2 separate regions of the Homo sapiens genome follow, and region 1 is linked to region 2. The links are contacts of gene promoters, found by promoter capture Hi-C in human tissues and cell types (Jung and others, 2019). All regions are on one chromosome and are shown on one strand. Each heading gives the region's core, a stretch centred on a gene start or on the middle of the fragment in contact. The rest is flanking DNA. Distances are from core to core; before and after follow the strand shown. Region 1 has its middle 50 kb from the start of C18orf61. Region 2 holds the start of CIDEA (cell death inducing DFFA like effector a).

What was found. Contacts are between HindIII fragments. The study calls those that stand out against the background at their distance.
Region 1: a contact is called between a fragment that was not itself captured here and the fragment with the promoter of CIDEA in region 2, in 4 of the 25 tissues and cell types used here (H1 embryonic stem cells, heart left ventricle, mesendoderm cells and 1 more).

The regions. Positions count from the first base shown.
Region 1 is chr18:12,147,890-12,152,881 of GRCh38, forward strand. It overlaps a transcript of ANKRD62 not described here. Among named protein-coding and RNA genes, the nearest start is that of C18orf61, 50 kb to the right of the region's middle. The HindIII fragment of the contact is 9,377 bases long and covers 1-4,992 here.
Region 2 is chr18:12,250,988-12,256,241 of GRCh38, forward strand. CIDEA (cell death inducing DFFA like effector a) reads left to right here and starts at 3,374. Exons shown (of 5, transcript NM_001279.4): 1 at 3,374-3,434. The coding sequence starts at 3,397. It overlaps LOC105371996 (a long non-coding RNA gene), which reads left to right and starts at 4,026. Exons shown (of 2, transcript XR_935158.3): 1 at 4,026-4,444; 2 at 4,592-5,254. RefSeq lists an enhancer at 2,510-3,116. The HindIII fragment of the contact is 10,266 bases long and covers 1-4,730 here.

The sequences.
Region 1 (4,992 bases), core at 405-2,904, 100 kb before region 2:
CTGCAGGATGCAATGGCTAAGTTGCCCCAACAGCAAAGATGGCGGCCTGCCTCTCCTTCTTGGAGGTTCATCCTGGGGAGGTTTCAGATCTCTGTCAGGTGGAAAACACCGGGATCAGGGACCCGCTTAAAAGGGCCAACTGGGGGCTGCTCTACGAAAACGTGGCCAGACTGCTTTTTCAAGTGGGTCCCTGATCCCGTTCCTCTTCACTGGGTGGGAGCTTTCAACTGGGGTGTCCAGCCACCCTTGCCAGTGTTCTCTGGCTGACAGACGTCCCAAATCTCCTTGAGATGGAGCTCCCAGGGAGTGCGGTAGGCCACCATCTCTTCTATTTGGGCAACTTAGCCCTTCCAGCCTTCGGGCTCAGAAGTGAACGAGGAGATCGGGGACGGAAGCAGACCCCCAGCACAGCACAGCACAGCACAGCACAGCACAGCACAGCACAGCACAACACAGCTGCTCAACAGAACGATGCACAGACTGGTTTTTCAAAAAAACGTAGTGCTGTTTTCTAAAAACAGGCACAATTGCTTACGCCGGTAATCCCAGCACTTTGGGAGGCTGAGGTGGGCAGATCATGAGGTCAGCAGTTGGAGATCAGCCTGGCCAGCATGGTGACACGGCCTCTTGACTAAAAGTACAAAAAGTTAGCCAGGCGTGGTGGCGTGCACCTGTAGTCCCAGCTACTCGGGAGGCTGAGGCAGGAGAATTGCTTGAACCTAGCAGGCAGAGGTTGCAGTGAGCCCAGATTGTGCCACTACACTCCAGCCTGGGTGGCAGAGTGAGACTCTCTCAAAAAAAAAAGGAAAAAAGAAAAGTGGCCCCAATACTTTTCTGAGTGAGGCTTCTCCTCACTCAGCGGGACCTGTCAACCGAGGTCTCTCCAGCTACCTCCTACAGATGCATTCAGGCCGTCAACAGCTCCATACCTCCCTGGGACAGGGCTTCCAGTGGGAGGGGCAGGCCACCATCTTTGCTGTTTTGCAACCTTCATACCTCCAGGTGCTGAAAAATCCAAGGTGACTAGGGACTGGAGCAGGCCCTCAGCATACTGCAGCAGCCCTACAGAAAGTGGCCACACTGTTACATGGGTGCCCATTCCCGAAACTCCTCACCTGGCAGGTCCTCTAGCCACCCCTCGCCAGACCTATGGAGCCAGTGGCAGCTCGGCAACTCCATTGACACAGCCTCCAGGGGCAACTGAAAGCCTCTCTGCCACTGCCTCTGCAGTGGAACTGCCCTTGCTACCCTTGGACTAGTGAAGGAGCAAAGACCCTATGTCCTTGATCCACACCTCCAACGAGCTGCAGTTGACCCAAGGAGAGGAGGCCAGTCCATCTCCCATGGGCCCCACATGCTCCCCTCTGCTCACTACCAGACAGGGAACCCCCGGCTTGGGCCCACAGCACAGACACTCCAACCTGGGCTGATTGCACTGAGTGAATGCTGACCTGCATCTCTATGGGTGGAGCCCCCAGGAGACACGCGAAAGACCCTTGGCCACAGCCACTACTAAGGTCCCTTTCTCTGTGCCTCCAAGTTGGGGAAGGAACATAAACACTGAGATCGCCCCCGAGCTGCAGTGGGCAGCCCAGGAGTGCCAAGCCACAATCTACAGCCAGCACTCAAGGGGGAGAGGAACCCATACTTTCAGAGTACTGGGAAGGAACAGGGCTGCAAGTGTGGTTCAACATAGAGGAGCCACACAAACGAGCAAGAGTTTACCAACTGACCAATATTCCTAAGCGCCACCTACTGGATCACACCCTAGAACCTCAACACCAAAAGTACCTTGCTAACATACTCCCATCTGAAACCAAAGACAAGAAGTCAGCTTCAAATCAAGACCCGAATAAAGTGTCAGTTCTGTGAAAACATCCAGAAAAGAAGTCTATTGACTGTACTGAGTCTGCACTGAAGTTAAAGGAACACCCACATGCAGAGATGAGAAAGAACCAACGCGAGAACTCTGGTAACTCAAATGGCCAGAGTGCCATACGTCCTCCTAAGGACCACAACAGTTCTCCAAGAAGAGTTCTTAACCAGACAGAGCTGGCTGACATGATAGAAATAGAATTCAGACTATGGGCAGGAATGAGGACCGTTGAGATTCAGGAAGATGGCAATACCTAATGCAAGGAAACCGAGAATCACAATAGAATAATACAGGAGCTGAAGGATGAAATAGCCACCATAGGAAAAAAAAACACCACCACCACTAAGAGGCCTGACGGAGTTGAGTAACACAATACAAGAATTTCACAATGCAATTGCAAGTATTAACAGGAGAATAAATCTAGCTGAGAAAAGAATTTCAGAGCTTGAAGACTGGCTCTCTGAAATGAGACAGTCAGACAAAAAATTATAAAAACAACCAAAAGACATGAACAAAACCTCTGAAAAGTATGGGACTATATAAAGAGGCCAAGTCTATTTATCATTGGCATCCCTGAAAGGGACAGAGAGAAAGCCAACAACTTGGAAAACCTATTTCAGTATATTGTCTATGACAACTTCCCCAAACTTGCTAGAGAATCAAACAAATTCAGGAAATACAGAGAACTCCTGCAAGATTTTACACACGAATACCATCCCCAAGACATATAATCATCAGATTTTCCAAGGTCCAAATGAAAGAAAGAATGTTAAAGGCAGCAAGAGGGAAAGGGCAGGTCACCTACAAAGGGAACCCCATCAGGCTAACAGTAGACATCTTAGCTGAAACCCTGCAAGCCAGAAGAGATTGGGGGCCTATATTTGACATTCTTAAAGAAAAAAATCCTTTAACCAAGAATTTCATATCCAGCCAAAGTAAACTTCCTCAGTGAAGGAGAAATAAGATCCTATTCAGACAAGCAAAAGTTGAGGGAGTTTGTTATCACCAGACCTGCCTTACAAGAGATCTTGAAAGGAGCACTAAATATAGAAAGACCACCACCAGCTAGTACAAAAATGCACTTAAATACACAGACCACTGACACTATAAAGCAAGCCAGCATAACAGTTGGCTAACAACACAACATCAGAATCAAATCCACAAATATCAACACTAACTTTATATGTAAATGGGTGAAATACCCTTCACTAAAAAGGCACCGTGTGGCAAGGTGCATATAAAACAAGAACCAATCATATGCTGTCTTCAAGAAACGTGTCTAACACATAATGACACCCATAGGCTCAAAATAAAGGGATGGAGGAAAATCTACCAAGCAAATGGAAAACAGAAAAAAGCAGGGCTTGCGATCCTAATTTCAGACAAAACAGATTTCAAACCAACAAAGATCAAAAAAGACAAAGAAGGGCATTAAATAATGGTAAAGTGTTGAATTCAACAAGAAGACCTAACTATTCTGAATATGTATGCATCCAGCACATGAGCACCTAGGTTCATAAAGCGAGTTCTTAGAGATCTACAAAGAGACATAGACTCCCTCAAAATAATAGTGGGAGACTTTAACGCTCCATTGACGTTAGATCACTGAGGGAGAAAATTAACAAAGGTATATGGGACCTGAAGTCAACACTGGACCAAGTGGGTCTGATAGACCTCTACGTAATTCTGTCCCTGAAAACAACAGAATATGCATTCTCTCATCACCACATGCCACATGCTCTGAAATCAACCCCATAATTGGATATAAAACAATCCTTAGCTAATGAAAAGAACTGAAATCATACTAAACATACTCTTGAACCACAACACAATAAAAATTAGTGTTAGAAAGATATCAAATTAACGACCTAACATCACAATTGAAATAATTAGAGAAGCAAGAATAAATCAACCTCACAGCTCGCAGAAGACAAGAAATAACCAACGTCAGAGCTTAACTGAAGAAGGAAATTGAGACTCAGAAAATTATCCAAAAGTTCAACAAATCCAGGGGTTGATTTTTTGAAAAATTTAATAAGATAGATAGACCACTAGCTAGACTAATAGAGAAGAGAGACAATCCAAATAAACACCATTAGAAATGATGAAGGCAATGTGACCACTGATCCCACAGAAATACAAGTAACATGAGTAACTACTAAAAATGCTTCTATGCACACAAACTAGAAAACCTTCTTAGAAGAGATAGGTAAATTTTTCTACACATACACCCTCCCAAGACTGAATCAAGAAGTAATTGAATGTTTTAACAGACCAATGATGAGCTCCAAAGTTGAATAGGAATAAATAAGCTACCAAAAAAAAAAAAAGGCCCAGGACCCGATGGATTCACAGCCAGATTCGACCAGATGCACAAAAAAGAGCTGATACCATTTCTGCTGAAATGCTTCCAAAAAAAAAAAAAAAAAAAAAAAACTGAGGAGGAGGGACTCCTCCCAAACACATTCTATGAGGCCAGCATTCTCCTGATACCGAAACCTGCAGAAACACAACCAGAAAATAAAGCTTCAGGCTGTTATCCTTGATTAACTTCAATGCATAAATCCTCAACAAAATCCTTGAAAACTGAATCCATTAGCATATCAAAAAGCTAATCCACCACGATCAAGTAGGCTTCATCCCTGGGATGCAAAGTTGGTTTAACCTATGCAAATCAATAAATGTGATTAATCACATAAACAGAACCAAAGACAAAAACCACAATTATCTCAATATTTGCAGAAAAGTCTTTCTACAAAATTCCACACCCTTCATGTTAAAAACTCTCAATGAACTGATGTTGAAGGAACATGTCTTGAAATAATAAGAGCTATTCATGACAAATCTGCAGCCAAGATCATACTGAATGGGCAAAAGCTGGGGGCATTCCCCTCAAAAACCAGCACAAGACAAGGATACCCTCTCTCACCACTCATATTCAACACAGTATTGGAAGCCCTCACCAGAGCAATCAAACAAATAAATAAAGGGCATCCAAACAGGAAGAGAGGAAGCCAAACTATCCCTGTTTGCAAGACAGCATTATTCTATCTTTAGAAAACCCCATAGTTGAAGCCGAGATCGTGCCATTGCCCTCCAAGCTGGGTGACAGAGCA
Region 2 (5,254 bases), core at 2,124-4,623:
AGAGCAAATTGAAATAAATTATTTGCCTTACTGACCATTCTGCTGAAGATGCCCTGGCTATGTGTTTAACGGTGTTTGGATTAGTCCTCTTCCAGTGCTTGATGGTTCACAATGTATTTCAAAAGCATTACCTCACTCGACTCTCACTGCACCCCACTGAAACTTGGTAAAAAGTGCATGTCATCAGGGATCAGTAGGAATAAAGAAACTGAAGCTCAAAAAGGAAAGTTCCCACAGTGACAGAATTTGAAAGTAGCAAGGCCAAAGTTCAGGGATGATTGTTTCCTCCACCAAAAAAAAACAAAAACAGAAATTGGATTAGAAACTGGAGTTTCTTTGAACCCTAAGCACCGATGTTTATAACGTATTGCGGTAAGTGGGAATCAATTTCTGTTTCAGGCACGCGCTCTTGGCTAGGAGTAGGGAGTGGAGCCGTTCATTGCTGTCGTGGTCAGTCCCACTCACGCTGCTGGAGCTGACCAGGCCGGCCCTTCCCTCATGGCATTTGAGTCTCACACACCCTGTGAGACAGACAGGCCGCTGCCCTGTGACAGATGAAGATCTGAGGCTTGGGGTAGTTATGTGACTGGCCCAAGGTCACCCAGCTAGAGGAGGCAAAACCAGGCTAGGAACCTAGGTCTCTGCACTCCAGAGCATGGGCTGTGCCCAGCACATGCTGAGACTCGGGGAGTGGGGAGGCATCCATACTTTGGAGAAAGAGCAGAGCCCACTGTGGCATCACCCCACAGATACTGCTGGGAGCCGAGGGAAGGCAATGCTGAGGTCCCTCCCTGAGGGTGTGGGTGTCAGGTGGAGCCCACTGTTCACAGCTGCACAGGCTCTGTGACAACAAACATTTGGTGAATTGAACTAAAAAGCTGGGTTCCCAATCCTGGTTGCCCGGGCACAGAGTAGTTGTTGAACATGGATGAATGAAACCTGTCGAGTGAGAGTGGAATGAATTTGTGTGCTGGAGACGAGAATATGCTGGAAGGCTGGGCATGACTCGCACTGTTGTCTTCTCCATCATCTGTTGGGTTTGCAGCCAAGTCCCCTGGAGCTCAGTCTGCCCTCTGCCCTCTCCCACCTCTCCCCACCACCCTCCTAGCGCAGCACTCCAGGATTCCCACTCAGCAGCAGGGCAGTGACCGACTTTTACTCCCAGCCTGAAGATCTGCATGAGAACCAATGCACACCAGGGCTATGCTGCCTCCGTGACCAAGGGGTCCCCAGGGCCTGGTCTCACCACCATCTCCGCTTCCACCACAGACTTGCTCCCGTCCAGGATTCCTCATCTCTCCAGTCTCCCAAGCTCAAAACCCCAGGGTGATCTCCTGCTGGGTCCCTTCTGCCATCGCCATGGCCTGGAAATGTTTGCTAGTCCCCACCCCACCCCCATGTCCACACTCAGTGCCCAGGTCTTTATTTTTATTTTGTTAGAAGTGATAATGTCACTATGGTTATGTATGAGATCATGTCCTTGTTTCTCCAGAGATGCAAGCTAAAGGATTTAATTTGGAAGGGTTCAAATTCAAATATAAAGAACAAAGAAATATGTCAAAATGTTAACAGTGGTTGAATCCAGGGGCTGGGTGTAAGTGTGCTCATTGTACTGTTCTCTCTTATCTATCTATCTATCTATCTATCTATCTATCTATCTATCTATCTTATATATAGATAGATAGATATATACACACAAACAGATTTTTTTCTTTCTTTAGAGAGAAAGTCTCACTCTGTTGCCCATATTGGAGTGCAGTGACATGATCACAGCTCACTGCAACCTCAAACTCCTGGGCTCAGGTGATCCTCCCTCCTCAGCCTCCTGAGTAGCTAGCACTACAGGTGCTCGCCGTCATGCTTGGCTAATTATCGTTATTTTTGTGTAGAGATAGTAGTCTCACAGTGTTACCCAGGCTGGTCTCAAATTCCTGGCTTCAAGCCATCCTCCTGTTTTGGCCTCCCAAAGTACTGGGATTACAGATGTAAGCCAGTACCCTCAGCCCTGTTCTTTCTATGTATCTCTATATTTGAACTTTTTCACAATAAAAAGGTTAGAGGTAAGTTGACCTGAATTGATTGGACCCATTTTCTCATCCATCACATTGGGGCTGTGAGTGGGAGGGGCAGTGAATGACCTCCTAAAGCTGTGTCCGCTCAGTGCCTCTGGGGGAAGCTGCCCCCTGTGAGCCTGGAGCTGGGTGTTCCCAGCAGGCGGAGTCCTTGACTCTGGAAGGCAATTGCCTTTGGCTTCAACAGTCCTGCAAGTCACAAGGCTTGTTGACCACGGTGACCCTTTCTGAGAGCCAGCGGAGGAAGAGGGCGGGCATAGGGTCAGGTCTTAAGAGATCAGGTCAGTCTGCTCAAACCAGGTGGGCTCAGGAGGAGCCGGCGAGGGTCCCGCTGCAGCTCCCGAAACGCTGTTTCCAGGCGGCAGTCAGCAGTTGGGCACGAGAGGATATCCTAGCAAGCCTCCATCCCAGAAAGTTACACCTCTTACTGCCCGAGTCCCACCCCTCAACACTGAGCCCACCTCTTCAGTCCTGTAGTGAGGGGTTCTGGGAACCCCTTGTAACTGCCCGCCTTCCTCGGAGGTCTCAGAGGCCCTAATTGCGTCTTCCGATGGGAACAACCATGAGAGCAGGGTGTGGACGGAAGTCCCCCAGCCCCAGCGGGGTTCACTCTTTGCCTCCTCACTCTGCGAGGGTCCCTTACTACAGCTAAAAGGCAATTCATGCAGTCCAAAGGCTCCTTTCCCCTCCCGTTCTGCATGCCCTTCTCACTGTCCCCAAATGCTCATGACATGGCCTTGAGAGCAGCGCAGCGGGCAGGAAGCCCAGGCGCCTCGGAGAACCTGAAGGGCTGCAGGTCCCGGTGTCTGCGGCAGCTTCCGCATCCCTGCAGGGAACCAGCGGCTCGCTGAGCCTGGGGCTGGGCTCTGGGGGACTCCAGAGCTGGAGGCAAGTGGCGCTCACATCCGTCTCCTCACCTGCCCCACCCGTGGCCTGGGTTTAAAATCCACATACCCGTCTTTCCGCGGCCAAAGTGATGCTGCCAGGATTGGTTATGACCCCAACTGCCCCGACCCCCAGAAGTGCAAAACGAACAGGCTGGCAAGTGACCAAAAGAGACCCGGGGAGCATCTGGGCTTCCAAGGTCCTCGGTACGGCCCAAGGCAGCGAAGGACGCGCGGCTCCAGGCTGCGGGAGCCAGGACGACCGGGGGCTCCCAGAGCGCGAAGTCGCGATCCTCGGCGGTGGAGAGCTCGTGCCAAAACGTCCTCCCCTGCGCCAGTCAGGCCTTCGCGGGGCTGGCAGGCGGGCGGGGGCGGGGCCGCCGCACTTTAAGAGGCTGTGCAGGCAGACAGACCTCCAGGCCCGCTAGGGGATCCGCGCCATGGAGGCCGCCCGGGACTATGCAGGAGCCCTCATCAGGCGAGTGCCCCGCGTCCCCCTGATTGCCGTGCGCTTCCAATCGCCTTGCGTTCGGTGGCCTCATATTCCCCTGTGCGCCTCTAGTACCGTACCCCGCTCCCTTCAGCCCCCTGCTCCCCGCATTCTCTTGCGCTCCGCGACCCCGCGCACACACCCATCCGCCCCACTGGTGCCCAAGCCGTCCAGCCGCGCCCGCGGGCAGAGCCCAATCCCGTCCCGCGCCTCCTCACCCTCTTGCAGCTGGGCACAGGTACCAGGTGTGGCTCTTGCGAGGTGCGCGGGCGTCTGCAAACCAGGTGACAGCTGGCGAGTGGCTGCATGCATCTCTGGCCGCTGCTGCAGTCGCGGGCGCAGAAGAGGGTCCGGTCCCAGGAACCCCGAGCAAAGCTTCCGCGATGCGAGGGGACCGGGCTTCTGGGGGTCCTGGAAATCACAACGGGAGCTGGGCGCGGGAGGGGCCCAGGCTTGGCCCCTCCTGGAAGCGCGGGCTCTGGTCTCCGAGGGGAGGCCCCAACCGTCCGGCGGAGCCCTCCAGGTTGGTGGTGCTGGGAGAAGCGCTCCTCCTTGCCTCCGGGTCCAAGGGCGGAGACGCTGCCTGGGGAGCAGGGGGGACAAGGGGCGGGTGGACCCTGAGGAGTCTTCCCTGCGCTTCGCACCCGCTCGTGGTCGAACAGGCAGCATTGGCTATTTTCCTGCTTGGGTTAATATTCATATCCCAACAGACCCAAGCCAATTCTTGGTAAAATCCTAAGTCATTGCGTGGCAGCAACTGTAAAGTAAGGTCTAAGAGGGAGATCGTGTTTCTCTGAAGATCAAGTACCTGGAAAAGGATAGAGAACCATTTGCGGGCTTGAAGGTGCAGGCGTTCAGCGGCGCCGGGTCCCACTGTGTGTGCTACGTGTGGCGGGCAGAGAGACTACATGTGTGAAAGGGAGCGGTCCGGCTACGAAACGCAATCTATGAGCTTCCAATCCCGGGTTCTTAAATGGGAGCTGTTGTAGACACTGCAGGTTAGAAGCATCTTTCTCTTTAAAAATAAGCCCACAGTACAAGTCGGGGCGGTGGCAGGGGGACGCTGAGAAACACCTGCTTCGTGTATGGTCATTAACACGCTTAGGCCTAAAGGTCAGGGCCCTGTATCTTTTGCGTTCTTCCAGAACCATCCACACCACAGTCCCACTTCCAGGAGGGGAGGTCTTAGCAGTTTGGAATGCGTCCTTCCAACCACTTTTCCAGTGAATTCACAACACACCCACTGTTCCTCCGGAGCATGGGGGAAGGAGGTGTGGGCTGACTCGCACTAACCAATCCTGGTTGGCCTCTGAGCAGGATTCAGGCTGAGCCTGTCCCTGCCTCTGACTATTATAACAGCTCACCAAAATCCAAAATGCATCTGTGTGGGGTCTCTGTGAGGTCGTGTGAAGTGGAAGTGACTTGCTTATGAGCTGTTGACAAATGAAACATTGGGAAACCTTGAGTCTCCTAGGACACATTCCTTCCAGCTTGGCTCATCCCAGGAGTGAATGACTCTACCTGTTATGGACAAGCTGTTGCTGCAGTTCTTTGAAATCTACCTGCTTCCAGGCTGAACTACTGTCATTCTGTGAAATCTACCTGCTCCCAGGCTGAACTACTGTCATTCTGTGAAATCTACCTGCTCCCAGGCTGGACTACTGTCATTCTGTGAAATCTACCTGTTACCAAACTAAACTGGAAGAAAACAATCTGTAATTCTTGTTGAAGGGAAAACACCTTTTCTTCCCTGCCCCTCTCTAAAACCCTGTCCGGGCAAAAGAGCCAGAGGCCAGGTCCTAACATAT